Linked DNA regions of Homo sapiens: region 1 is linked to region 2. Evidence: promoter capture Hi-C in 16 types of primary human blood cells and fetal thymus (Javierre and others, 2016). All regions are on one chromosome and are shown on one strand. The core of a region is centred on a gene start or on the middle of the fragment in contact, and the rest is flanking DNA. Distances in the headings are between cores, read along the strand shown. Region 1 overlaps HEXD (hexosaminidase D). Region 2 holds the start of SECTM1 (secreted and transmembrane 1).

Region 1 (6,771 bases), core at 2,603-5,102, 90 kb after region 2:
AGACCTTAAAGGAGCTCCACCAAAGGTCTCGTACCTCTCAGAGGTAAGGACTCCCTTTTACCTCTAGAGCATTACTTTTTGCCTTGGCTTCATTCTTTAAAGTTTTGAGCAGTGTTCTGTGGAAACGGGTACCTAGAACACAACCACAAGGTTCTCGGTGGAGCAAGATGGTGGCAGCAGCATTGATTTTGAATTTCCTCCATAGCCTCTCACAAAAACAGAACAACCAGGATGACAAAAGGGAAAAAAAAAAAAGACAGAGAACAAAAGAAACTCACAGCTTCTTTCTTTTGGGTTGAAGTGTATCTTTCCAAAAAGATATGTTCAAGTCTTAACCCCTGGGACCTGTGAATGAGACCTTATTTGGAAATAGGATCTTTGCAGATGTAATCAAAATAAGATGAAGTTGTACTAGAATATGGTGAACCCTAATCCAGTGATTGGCATCCTTATGAGGAGAGGGAAATTTAGAGCCTGAGACACACGGAGGGAAGGCAGTGTGAAGACCCAGGAGGATGCCCCGCGGTGCCAGCAGCCAAGATGGTCATGACGTGCCACGAACCCCAGGATGCCGAGGACAGCTGACGATCACCAGAAGCTAGAGAGAAGCAAGGAAGGGTCCTCCTCTTCAGCCTTCAGGGAGAGCTGGGTCTGCTGACACCTGGATTTTGGACTTAGGGCCTCCAGAACTGTGAGAGAATAAATTTCTGTTGTGTCAAGCCGCCCAGTTGTTTGTTTGTTTTTTGAGACGGAGTCTCGCTCTGTCATCCAGGCTGGAGTACAATGGCGCAGTCTCGGCTTACTGCAACCTCCACCTCCCGGGTTCAAGCAATTCTCCTGCCTCAGCCTCTGGAGTAGCTGGGATTACAGGTGCCTGCCACCATGCCTGGCTAATTTTTGTATTTTTAGTAGAGACGGGGTTTCACCACATTGGCCAGGCTGGTCTTGAACTGCTGACCTCGTGATCCACCCGCCTCAGCCTCCCAAAGTGCTAGGATTACAGGTGTGAGCCACCGCACCCGGCCAAGCCACCCAGTTTATGGTCATTTATTACAGCAGCCCTAGAAAACTAAGACACTCTTCAACAAAATTAGGTATCAGGGTGTCCCCATGGATCCCAAACTACAAGTGGGTGGGACCAAACCACAGACAGAATAACACCTGTATGGGGTTAGTGGCCAAGCAGGAGGTAACAGAGGAAAGAGGGAAACTCCAACAGTGCTATGACCAGAGGACCCAGAAAATAGCCTCAAAAGTAAGTAAAGGTCTCCCATAGCGAGAAGTGGGGCAGAGTTTTAATGGCTCCCGTCTGAGATTGAGTGCAAAGAGACTTAAAGGAGGGTGCAGGGGAGGCCGAGGCTGCAAGGCTGTCAGAAATACGTAATGAAACATCCAGGAGGGTGCAGGGGAGGCCCAAGGCTGCAAAACTCTCAGAAATACGTAACAAAACTTCCTTCCAGAGGAACAGCGCCCCCCACTAAGGACAAAACAGGGAAAGCATCCACATTGAACTGGGCAGGAACAGCGAAGGGAAAGGTCCTGGGGAAAGGCGTCCAGAAGAGGTGGAGGTCAAAAAACACTGCAGAAGCAGCTACACAGAGCCTGCAGTTTCTAATACCGCGTGGCAGCAGTAGAGGAGGGGGCCTTGAGGCTGGCCTGTCACCATTGCAAACACAAGAGCCTGTTCTTAAAAATGAGCAACAGGCTGGCCATGGTGGCTCACGTCTGTAATCCAGGCACTTTGGGAGGCCAAGACGGACAGATCACCTGAGGTCAGGAGCTTGTGACCAGCCTGGGCAACATGGAGAAACCCCGTCTCTACTAAGAATACAAAAATTAGCAAGGCATGGTGACACATGCCTGTAGTCCCAGCTACTTGGGAGTCTGAAGCAGGAGAATTGCTTGAACTCAGGAGGCAGAGGTTGCAGTGAGCCAAGATTGCGCCACTGCACTCCAGCCAAGGTGACAGAGCAAGACACCATCTCAAAAAAAGAAAAAAAGAAGCAAAAAAGAGTGTTGTTTAACATCATACAAAGATAGGTAAGAAAAAAGAAGGCCAGGCACGGTGGCTCACGCCTGTAATCCCAGCACTTTGGGAGGCCGAGGAAGGTGGATCACAAGGTCAGGAGATGAAGACCATCCTGGCCAACACAGTGTCTCTACTAAAAATACCAAAAATTAGCCCCGTGTGGTGGCGGCGCCTGTAATCCTGCTACTCGAGAGGCTGAGGCAGGAGAATCACTTGAACCTGGGAGGTGGAGGTTGCAGTAAGCCGAGATTGTGCCACTGCGCTCCAGCCTGGGTGACAAGAGTGAGACTCTGTCTCAAAAAAAAAAAAAAAGAAAAAAGAAGATGATCTGAATAGCATTGCAGCAGTGAAGGTGCTCCAGACACACAGGCCCACCCAGCAGGAAACACTGTTCCATAATATTTCATAACAAGATAAAAGATACTCAGAAGATGACGGAAGCTGTGAAAGAACAGCATAAATCAGAAATAGAAAAGCCCAGGCCAGGCTCAGCGGCTCACAACTGTAATCCCACCTACTTGGGAGGCTGAGGCATGAGAATCACCTGAACCTGGGTGGTGGAGGTTGCAGTGAGCCAAGATCGTGCCACTGCACTCCAGCCTGGGCGATAGAGCAAGACTCAGTCTAAAAAAAAAAAAGCCCAGAAATGTGGTAATCAGACAAAAGGAGGTTGTAAAAAATTGCCTGTGGAGCTCAGAAATGAATTATAAGGAAAAAACAATGTTTTTAATGAAGACTAAACTATAAGAAGTGTACAAGTGAGTAGACACCATGGAAAGTGCAGTATTTGGAAACAGATGACAGAAAAGAAAAAAGCAAACAGAGATGAAAAGGCGTTCTGACAAATTGAATATGGCAAAGAAGACTGAACTTACATACAGCTGATGAAGAGGCATTTTGACTTGGGCCAGGCGCGGTGGCTCATGCCTATAATCCCAGCACTTTGGGAGGCTGAGGAGGGTGGATCACCTGAGGTCAGGAGTTCGAGACCAGCCTGACCAACATGGTGAAACCCTGTCTCTATTAAAAATACAAAAATTAGCCAGGCGTGGTGTCAGGTGCCTGTAATCTCAGCTACTCGGGAGACTGAGGCAGGAGAATTGCTTGAACCCGGGAGGCGGAGGTTGTGGTGAGCTGAGATCGTGCCACTGCACTCCATCCTGGGGGACAAGAGCAAAACTCCATCTCAAAAAAAAAAAGAAAGGAAAGGCGTTCTGACAATTGAATATAGGCAAAGAAGATCCAACTTACACACAGCTGGAGTCCCTGTTTCCATCATCTGTTGCTGCGTGACAGATCTCCCCAAACTTGAGGTCCCCATTCATCACCCCTTGTGTTTCTGTGGGTTGGCTGCGTGATTCTGCTTTTCTGACCGAGGTGCCCTCAGGTGGTCACAGCCCCGTAACATCTAGAAACCTCTGATGGTCCGCGTGGCCTTCCATGTCCGGCAGTTCATCCCAACTGTCAGCTGGGGCTCCTTAGTTCTCCTGCATGTGTGTCATCCAGGAGGCCTAGCATGTGCCTGTAGTCCCAGCTCCTTGGAAGGCTGAGGCTGGAGGATCACTTGAGCCCAGGAGTTGGGTGCTGCAGCGAGCCATGATCATGCCAGCACGCTCCAGCCTGGGCAACAGAGTGAGACCCCATCTGTTAAAAAAAAGAGAGAGGCCGGGCACAGTGGCTCACACCTGTAATCCCAGCATTTTGGAAGGCCGAGGGGCAGATTACCTGAGGTCAGGAGTTCGAGACCAGCCTGGCCAACATGGTGAAACCCCGTCTCTACTAAAAATACAAAAATTAGCTGGGCATCGGGGCGGGCGCCTGTAATCCCAGCTACTCGGGAGGCTGGGGCAGGAGAATCGCTTGAACCCGGGAGGCAGAGGTTGCAACGAGCCAAGATCACGCCACTCCACTCCAGCCTGGGCGAGAGAGCGAGACTCCATCTCAAAAAAAAAAAAAAAAGAGAGAAAGACAAGGAAGTGGGGAGGAGAATAAGGGGGAAGGGACCCCATGAGTACAGACCAGGAACGAATGAGTTCTGCACCCCTCTCTCACCTCCCCCAGGTGCTGACCCCAACCCTTCAGAGCCCTGCTCCCCCTGCCCCGGCTCCTCCTGCCCCGTCCCCCATGCCTTGCCATTCTCCTTCAGCCTGGCTGCCCTGTCCCCCATGCCTTGCTGGTGCCCCTCAGCCTGGCTGCCTTGCTGGGCCGCCGTGCATGAAGAGCTGCTTCTTGGTGGCTCCCTGCTGGCCGGACCCGTCCCTCCCAAGCTGAGCCACCAGCGCGTTGAGTAGCAGCCCTGTTTCATAGCATATCTCCCCTTCTGTGCAAAATAGTCACTGGAACGGGGAGTTTCATTTGGCATAACGTAAAGTACACATTCCGGATTTAAGGTTCCCAGGAGAAATAGAAGTAGCAACTCCCACAGTCTCCACAGGCTGAAAGGGAAGGCGTCTCCCTGCTGTGGACTTGCCACATCGTGCTCCAGCAGCCACTTCTTCCTAACCCCTCCCTGTTTACCCCCCAGATTTTTCCTCTGTTCCGTGCGCTAGGTGCAAACGGCCTCCTCATTGAGTATGAAGACATGTTTCCCTACGAGGGCCCTCTGAGGCTGCTGAGGGCCAAGTACGCCTACAGGTAACACTGCCCGTGGCAGGTACAGGGGCGCGGCGTGAAAGCGGGGAAGGGGGGGTTCCGCAGGGCAGGAGGAGCAGCAACCTGGAGGTGCGGGTGGCACAGTCAGGAACTGAACAGTGGTGGGTACATTCCTTTTTTGTCTTTTTAAATTCATCTCTTTAATTGTATGAAAACAAAGTTTCATTTCAAACATTCACTGGAGAGAATTTTGAAACATTTAAAGGGAAAGTAAGCATCAGCAGCGCCCCCTACAGGGAAGAGCTGCAGTTCCTGTCTCTGTCCTGCAGGCGTTTCTTCTGTTGATGGGAGAAGGCTGGACTACAGAAGGTTAGAGAAGGTTAGAGAAGGTTAGAGAAGGCCAGAGAAGGAAGGCCAGAGAAGGCTGGGCTAGAGAAGGCTAGAGAAAGCTGGAGAAGGCTAGAGAAGGCTGGAGAAGGCTGGAGAAGGCTGGACTACAGAAGGTTAGAGAAGGCCAGAGAAGGCTGGGCTAGAGAAGGCCGGAGAAGGCTGGAGGAGGCTAGAGAAGGCTGGAGGAGGCTGGAGGAGGCCAGAGAAGGCTGGAGAAGGCTGGAGAAGGCTGGAGGAGGCTGGGCTAGAGAAGGCCGGAGGAGGCTGGAGGAGGCCAGAGAAGGCTGGAGAAGGCTGGAGGAGGCTAGAGAAGGCTGGAGGAGGCTGGAGGAGGCCGGAGAAGGCTGGAGGAGGCTGGAGGAGGCTGGGCTAGAGAAGGCCGGAGGAGGCTAGAGAAGGCTGGAGAAGGCTGGAGAAGGCTGGGCTAGAGGTTAGAGAAGGCTAGATAAGGTTAGAGAAGGCCAGAGAAGGCTGGGCTAGAGAAGGCTGGAGGAGGCCAGGGAAGGTCAGAGGAGGCTGGAGAAGGCTGGAGGAGGCTGTAGAAGGCTGAGCTAGAGAAGGCTGGAGGATGCTGGAGGAGGCCTCCGCGCAGGGAGGGGCTGCTCTTCAGGCCACAGTTGAGCCTTGAGTTAGAGAAGAGAAGAATTAAAGGGGAGAGAATCAAAATCAATAAAATCAGGTGTGGTGGAGATGGGAGGCCCCTGCTTAATGCTAAAATCACAGGTCTCTGTGAAAATCAATAACGGCCCCAAAGATAAATGCACAATGGACATTAACTGGCCAATCCCAAAGGAAGAAACAAAAAAGGCCAATAAGCATATAAGAAAATGTGAAGGCCAGGAGCAGTGGCTCACGCCTGTAATCCCAGCAATTTGGGAGGCCAAGGTGGGCAGATCACTGGAGCTCAGGAGTTTGAGACCAGCCTGGGTAACATGGTAAAACCCCATCTCTATGTGAAATACAAAAATTAGGCCGGGTGCAGTGGCTCACGCCTATAATCCCAGCACTTTGGGAGGCCGAGGTGGGTGGATCACTTGAGCTCAGGAGTTCGAGACCAGCCTGGGCAACATGGTGAAACCCCATCTCTACATAAAATGCAAAAAATAGCCATGGATAGTGGCATGGGGCTGTAGTCCAAGCTACTCAGGAGGCTGAGATAGGAGGATGGCTTGAGCCTGGTGTTAGGTTTTTTTAAAGGGAAGGCGAGGGTTAAAGAAAGACAGAGAGAGAGAGGGCGTCTCTACAGCAACAGAGGTATAGTGCAGAAACCTACAGAGGGGGGACCAGCTTAATGCCAGAGCCCACCGCCGCTTACAGGCTGGGGTACTTACAGGCCTGGACGGGAGGGGTTTGGGCAGTAGGGCTTCTGCCTGGGAAGATGTTGAGAGATGTTCCCATGATGAGGCAGTTGGGTCCTTGTTCCCAGCAGAATATGATCAGGATGTTCCTTCAGCTGGGCCTTTGCCCAGCAAGGTATGTTCGGGATGTTCCTGGGCCGTGTGGTCGGGTGGTCGGGATGTTCCTGGGCCGTGTGGTCAGGATGTTGGGCAGGATGTTCCTCACAGCCCAAACCCCGTGGAATGTTTCACTTCAACCTGGGTCTGGAAAACAGCAGGGGGCTTACAAAATGGTGCAGTTTGGATTAACACCCAGGACCCAGAGGCTGCAGTGAGCTGAGATGGCGCCACTGCACTCCAACCTGGGCAACAGAGCCAGAGCCTGTCTCAAAAGAAAAGGAAAGAAAGAAAGAAAATGTTAAA
Region 2 (6,545 bases), core at 3,671-6,170:
GAAAAGTCCCTAGGTAGGGCGGCAACTCCAGCCCTGCCTCTCCCAGCTCCCAGTGCAGCCCACACGCCGGAGTGCAGATGACCTGCAGGGAACTCCCATGAGGGAACTCTGTAAAGCGACCTTCAGACGTGCTATTTATAGATGTCTATAGATTTATAGATGTGTGTTTCTCCAAACAAATAAACCACCAGAAAGTGTCACAGCAGGACACGTCACCAACCCCGGGGACCCCATGTTACCAGGGGTCCTCCTGGAGCCTGGAGTCTGGGCCTGCTGAGGACCTGGCTTGCAGACGGGCTCCGGCCTTCTCGTCCCATTGCCCCAAGCGCTCCAACCCCCTGTGAACATGCCTCTAGTCATCCCTGGGCCCTGCACAGCCACAGGCAGCCACCCGGTCATTCCCATACTCTCACCATGGTCCTGCCTCCACGTGGAAGACCCTGCCAGCCGCAGAGTGCAGGTGTGGGGACACTGTCACTGCTGGGAGGCACGTCACCAACCCCGAGGTGCTGCTGAGGCTCAGGGATGGTCCCACATTGGCGCAGGCTGCGGGTGCCGTGTCCTGAGGTCTGGGTTCCCCACTCCAGGCAGCCGCTATGCTCAGTACAAGTCCAGTCCCTTCTGTTGGAAACCCCACCCCACCCTGTCAGGGCTGAGTGCAAGGGGAGGGAACCCACACCTGAGACCTTTTGTGGCCCCTCACTAACACCCCCTTTCCTGCTGTGACCCCTCAGGGCTGCTCAGATGGGCTTGGAGACAGGCTCGGGCCCCATCTCCCATCATACGTCCAGCATTCTAGATTAGCTGGAAGTCCGACGGGGTCTCCCTGGGTTAAAATCAAGGGGTGGGTCAGGGTGGTCCCTTCTGGAGGCTCCAGGCGGAATCTGTCCCTCTCCGTCTCCAGCGTCCAGAGGCATCCGCATCCCTCGGCTCATGGCCCCTCTGCCATCTCCCCACCACTGCCCCCCAGCTGCTTCCCTCATCTCCCTGACTCCCCCTCCTCTCTCCCTCTCCTGGAGACCCTGTGATGGCATCAAGGGCCCCCCTGGGTGACCCAGGACACATGCCCCAGCTCAGCACCCGAGGCTTCATCCCATCTGCATAGTCTCTTTGCCATGTCAGGTTCTGGGATGAGGACGTGACATCTTTGGGGACTGGTAGCCGACCACAGAACCCCCACCCCCAGTGCGGTGGGAGACCCAGGCCACCTGCAGACCCCTGCATGGAGGTGAGGTTCACACAAGGAGACCCCAGGGGGCCTGGGTCCGGCTCCCTCACCCCACGCTCCACGATGCCAGCTCAGCCACCCACCTTGGAACCGTGCAGATGGACAGCAGGGAGGGTCGGGGCTGCTGGGGGCTCCCCCACTGCTCTCCGCACCACCCCGCCGACCGTGTCCGGGAGGGGATGCCCTGCTGCTCTCCCCAGGCTGCTCTGGGGAGTCCTGCCCTCACCTGGAGCCTGGAGGCCATCTGAGTCTGTTTCACAAATGCTTCCAGGGACTGCCCCTGCCATGTGTTAGGGGTGGGAATTCTGGGCACACAGCCAAAGGTCACAGATCCCCAGAGAGCCCCGACAGCGCTGCGTCCACCCCACCTGCCCACCCAGGTGCTGGCTCTGCCACCCGTCTGTGTCCTGAGTCAGCCCTGACTCGGCAGAGAGCTGCACCCTGAGCCAGACCTCAGCAGCTGGGTCCTGGAGGCCCCCAAGGGCCAGCTGCACGCACCTGGCTTCATGCCAAGCTCCTCCCGCCTGGCAGTGGCTGCATCTGCCTCCCCTCCACCCTGAGTGTCCCAAGTCTGCCCGCTGTGCATTCCATGGGGCCAGCAGCTCGGTGGAGCCTCTGCTCTCGGGGGCTACAGCTGCTCCTAGATGCCTCTGCCACCGAGGGTGGACCCTGCAGTGCTGGCTCCTAGCCTCCCTGCCGATTGCTTCCTGAAGACCTGGGGCCCTGGGCTGCAGTGGTTGGGGAGAGGGGGGTGGGAGTGAGAAGCTGGCACTGTCCGTCTTTCTGGCCTCATCCTCTCCATGGTCTCAGCCCCTGGCGGCCTGGACTGCACCGTTCCGGAGATGCTGCCTCCCCACCAAGTCCCTTTAGCCCAACTGTGGTGGCGGCCGCTGCTTCTCACACGCGGGTCCTCTCACTGCCTCTCCCCGGTCCTCCCTTCCTCCCAGCACCTTCACCAGCTCCCCACTGAGTGCCCTCCAATGTTGGCGACCCTGACCCTTGTCCAGCCAGGGGTGAAGGGCGGCAAGGGATGGGCTGGAGGGTACTAGGAGCAGGTGGCGGTGCCCTTCCTGTCGGTCCACACCCGGCAAGTGGCGGGAAAGGTGTGGAATGAGTCAGCCGTGGAGGGGAGCCCTGGGCCTGGAAGACCCCTGTCTTTGGCTTGAGAATGACTTTGAAGGGCTCAGGGGGTAGGGAGCTGGGGGGAGACCGGGAGGAGAGCGGCAGGTCTGGCTCTACCCCGAGGCTTCAGGCTGCGGACCATGCGTGGCCCCAGCTCTGTCTGGGCAGCAGGTGTCAGCGACTTTGGGTTGCTGTGGGAATTTGCTCCGTTTATCAGAAGAAAACGCACCCTGGCAACACAGGCCCCTCTCAGGTCACCAGGCACATCTGGTCACATCTGAGTCTCAGATAAACAACCAATGATGTCCTGGTGAAAGCTTGTCCCGTGGGACACTCGGGACACACTTATATTAAAACACGATTAACGATCTCAAACTCAGATGTTACTGGGTATCCTGCGTTTTTGTTGGCAGCTCTGCCACTCTGCCCGTCTGCCTGAGTCCTCTCCTGCCATCCTCCTGACCAGAGGCGTGGGCTTGAGTTGAATGCCACGCAGTGGCTAAAAATCAGAGAGAGGGCAGGCGGCAGGGCGCGGCCCCAGGGAAAGTGGCCAGGTGGGCGGTGACTGGCCGGGCAGCTCCGTGTGTGGCACAGGGAGACCTGGCACAGGGAGACCAGGTACAGGGAGACGAGGCGCACGGAGCCTCAAAACTTCTAGAGTGGGCCGGGCGCGGTGGCGCATGCCTGCAATCCCAGCACTTTGGGAGGCTGAGGCAGGTGGATCACCTGAGGTCGGGAGTTTGAGACCAGTCTGAACAACGTGGTGAAACCCCGTCTCTACTAAAAATACAAAAAAATTAGCCGGGCGTGGTGGTGCACGCCTGTAATCCCAGTTACTTGGGAGGCTGAGGCAGGAGAATCGCTTGAACCAGGGAGGTGGAGGTTGTGGTGAGCCAAGATCTGGCCACTACATTCCAGCCTGGGCAACAAGAGCGAAACTCCGTCTCAAACCAAACAAAACAAAAAACAAACTTCTAGAGCGGGAAAAGATGGAGGCGGCAATCAGATTTCTCTCAAACCACGAACACAGGGGTCGGTATCTGAGGCGCCGGCACCAGACACGGCAGGGTCTGAGTGCTCCCTGACAAGCGATGATGCGCAGGCTTGGAGCCATGCCAGTGACACGCCTAGGAAAGTTCACGCACCGCCCAGCACGCCTGCGCATGCCTGTTCCCGCTCCCTGGTGCCCCGGGCGCCTGCCTGTCCCGGCTCCCATGGGTGCTGGGTGTGTGGAAGCTCCGGCCCCCTCGGGCTGGGTTCATTGGGGTCCTCCTGTGTGGTCAGTGGACTCTGTACCCCCACAGCACCTGAGGGGTGGCTGACACTGCTTTCCCAGCTGCTGCAGGGGCTCAGGGAACACAGGTGACCCCACGTCTCTACCGAGAATGAGCACACCAACACCTCTCAGAAGACAGCTGCAGCCTGCAGAGGCCATGGACCCCACCCAGGCCCACGGTGTGGACGGCTCTGCCCTGGTCTCTGCTGAGCCAGGCCCAGAGGGGACCCCAGGTGAGCAGCAAAGCCCCCCAGGCCTGGGGCTAGACCGGGCTAACCCTTCCTGCTCAGCACCTGTTCACCTGTCCCCTCTGCTGGTGGCCTCCTGTCCTCCCGCTCTGGGCTCAGCAGCAGCCCCGTGGAGAGGCCCTGCCACCACCCCCGCCCTGCTGGAGACAGGCCTCCTACGCGGGCTCCTGCAGCCGGTCGCCCTGGGCCTCCTAGAAGCCGGGGATCCTCTGCTGACCACCGGCAGAAAACGTGCTTCTCAAGCTGCAGGTGATTCACCAGTAGTGGGCAAGGAACTGAATGTGGTGATTACTGCGGAGTCAGCAAAACCCGCGTGAGAACGGGCAGCTGAGGGCCTGCCGGGTGAGGGAAGCCTCACGGTTCCTGTTTCATGAGTTTGCTGTGAGTGCACACGAGGCTGTGGCTGTGGAGTGTGCAACAGTCCACGCGTGCCTGCGTGTGCTCATGTGCGTGTGTCCACCAGCTTGTGTGCACGCATATGAGCGAGTGCGTTTTGCTCCCAGCTTGGTCGCAGCGACGGCGCAGGGAACCCCGGGTGAGGCCGAGGACCGGGAAGGGAGGAGGGGGCTCCGACCCATCGGACTTAGGGGAGCCCCGGGTCCGAGACGCCGCCTCTGTCCCTTCAAGAGTCGAGCCTGGCGCACAGGGCAGGGACGCGGGTCCCCACACCGGCCGGCAGCTCGTTCCCGCCCATACTCGGGTACGCCCGCTGCGACCCCGCCCGCCTGGCCTGCGACGCACGCTCAGGGCCAGCGGGGGGTGACGGTCCCAGAGGCAGAGGCGCCGCAGCCCCAGAGTCCCCATCCCTGCGCGGACCGGCAACCCCAGTGCACCAAGAGGCCCTAACACCGAGCCCCCAGCACCGAGTCCCCAGCACCGGGCCCTCAGCACCGAGTCCCCAGCACCGAGTCCCCAGCACCGAGTCCCCAGCACCGAGCCCGCCCCTCTGGTTCCCCCGCCCGCCCCTCTCCGCGCCTCACCGGGTCCGCTCCTGGACGCGCTCCTCTGGGATGCAGCTTCTCCGCGCCCCGGAGCCCCAGGAAAATGAAAGACACGAGAGGGAGGGGCCAGGGAGGAGGCGGCGGACCCGCGCGGGACCCACCTCCCAGATGAGGAAGGAGCTGGGTTTACGGGAAGCCTCCAAGTTTCGGGAACCACCCGCGTTCACAACAAGCGTGACGGTGAATTTATTATTTTCACGGGAGGCACCGCACCCGCGGTTCACGCTAAAGGAAGCAGGAAAGCCGCCGGGAGCATTTTTCCAGGAGAGTTCGTGCCTGGGCGGGTCCAGCTCGCGTGCGGCGCGCGTTCCCCGCGGGGCTGTTTGGCTCCGCTCCTGGAGGCCTCGAGTCTGTGCACGGGGCGAGCTGGGCGGGCCGAGTGGGCCGCGGGGAGGGAGGGCGGGGGGCGGCCCCCAGATGCCTGGGAGTGCGCGGGCAGAGTGAGCTGGACCCCCGGAGGGTCAGAGGCCCTTTCATAAAAGCGCGCAGAGCAGAGGAGTGATGTCCCCCAGCTCCCCCGCAGAGGGTCCTGCACCTGCGGCCTGGGCCTTCAGGCGTCCTGCGGCCCCTGCGGAGGTGCTGGCCTGGCCAGCCCGGGAGGAGGGGCCCAGCCTGTTGGGGCAGGAGATTGGGGTGCGGGTAGAAGGCTCCAAGACGCATCCGGGCCGGGAACCCACAGACATCCCAGGTGGGCAGGAGGTGGCTCGAGGAGGCCTGGAGGACCCGGCGCCTGGCGGGGTGGCAGGCGGGCCACGTCCTCCACTAGAACCCGAGGGGGCACGCGGGCAGGTGCGGGCGGGGTCAAGGATGACCAGGTATCTTCGGGACACTAGGAGGAGGCCCCACAGGCTGCAGTCACGTGAGTGGGCAAGTCCCCACCGGGCAGATGATGGGGGACACTGGGGCGTGGGCAATGCCCCCAGTTTCATGGAAGAGAGGAAGAAGCAGAACCAAACTCCGGGAAACCCTCAAATGTGGGGAATGGACGGAGCAGGGCCAGACTGGACGCTGAACCTTGGAGCCTGCAGCTCAGCCATCAGACCCAGGGTCCAGAGGTGGGTGGCACAGAACAAAGTCCCCCGGGATGTTCCAAAAGAGAAACTGTCGCCAAATTGGCAGGTGAAACACAGCCTGTCATCCTCCCAGCAAGACGGCACCATGGCCGGGGCACAGAGGTCAGATTCCCCAGCCCCCGCCCTCGGGGAAACCCCAGCCACCCTGGCTGCCAGTGAGATGCTGGAGAGGGGGCTGAAATCCCACCTGCCCACGTCCTCTGCACAGAGGGGCTTGTCCCCGAGGCCACATCCCCCAGCAGCCACAGCTTCCTTCTCCTTTTTTCCTGCCTACTAGATCTCTCAACTCAGAGGGGGCTGCAGTTCCTGGGGGCAGGGGGGTCCGGCTGCTTAGGCAGGAGCACCTGCACCGTGAGGCTCTGGAGGGCAGCTGAAGGCTGGCAGGCTTTTGTCCCGTGAGGGGACACCACTGGGGGTTGGAGGAAAACGCATATCCTGATAAAGCATTTCATGTTGTGAAAGTGAAACTAGTTTGTTTATTTTGGAAGTAATACAGGCACAGAAACAAAATAGAATGAAACCAACTGTTGCCTTTTCCTCCCCACCCTGGCTTCAATTCCCAGGTTGAGTTATGGACACTGCCTTACCTATCCTTCT

Evidence for each region. Contacts are between HindIII fragments. The CHiCAGO score rates a contact against its expected background, and 5 or more counts as called.
Region 1: a fragment that was not itself captured here is called in contact with the fragment with the promoter of SECTM1 in region 2 in 4 of 17 cell types (M1 macrophages, M0 macrophages, M2 macrophages and 1 more); the score reaches 6.4 in M1 macrophages.

The regions. Positions count from the first base shown.
Region 1 is chr17:82,419,841-82,426,611 of GRCh38, forward strand. HEXD (hexosaminidase D) reads left to right here. Exons shown (of 13, transcript NM_001330542.2): 2 at 1-43; 3 at 4,554-4,663. It overlaps HEXD-IT1 (HEXD intronic transcript 1), which reads left to right and starts at 5,485. Exons shown (of 1, transcript NR_170223.1): 1 at 5,485-6,764. LOC124904091 (a long non-coding RNA gene) reads right to left here. Exons shown (of 3, transcript XR_007065958.1): 3 at 6,072-6,612. RefSeq lists an enhancer at 4,143-4,978. The HindIII fragment of the contact is 7,971 bases long and covers 1-6,771 here.
Region 2 is chr17:82,328,846-82,335,390 of GRCh38, forward strand. It overlaps SECTM1 (secreted and transmembrane 1), which reads right to left and starts at 4,921. Exons shown (of 5, transcript NM_003004.3): 1 at 4,855-4,921. RefSeq lists a silencer at 3,264-3,548 and enhancers at 3,425-4,227, 6,275-6,344. The HindIII fragment of the contact is 7,811 bases long and covers 2,666-6,545 here.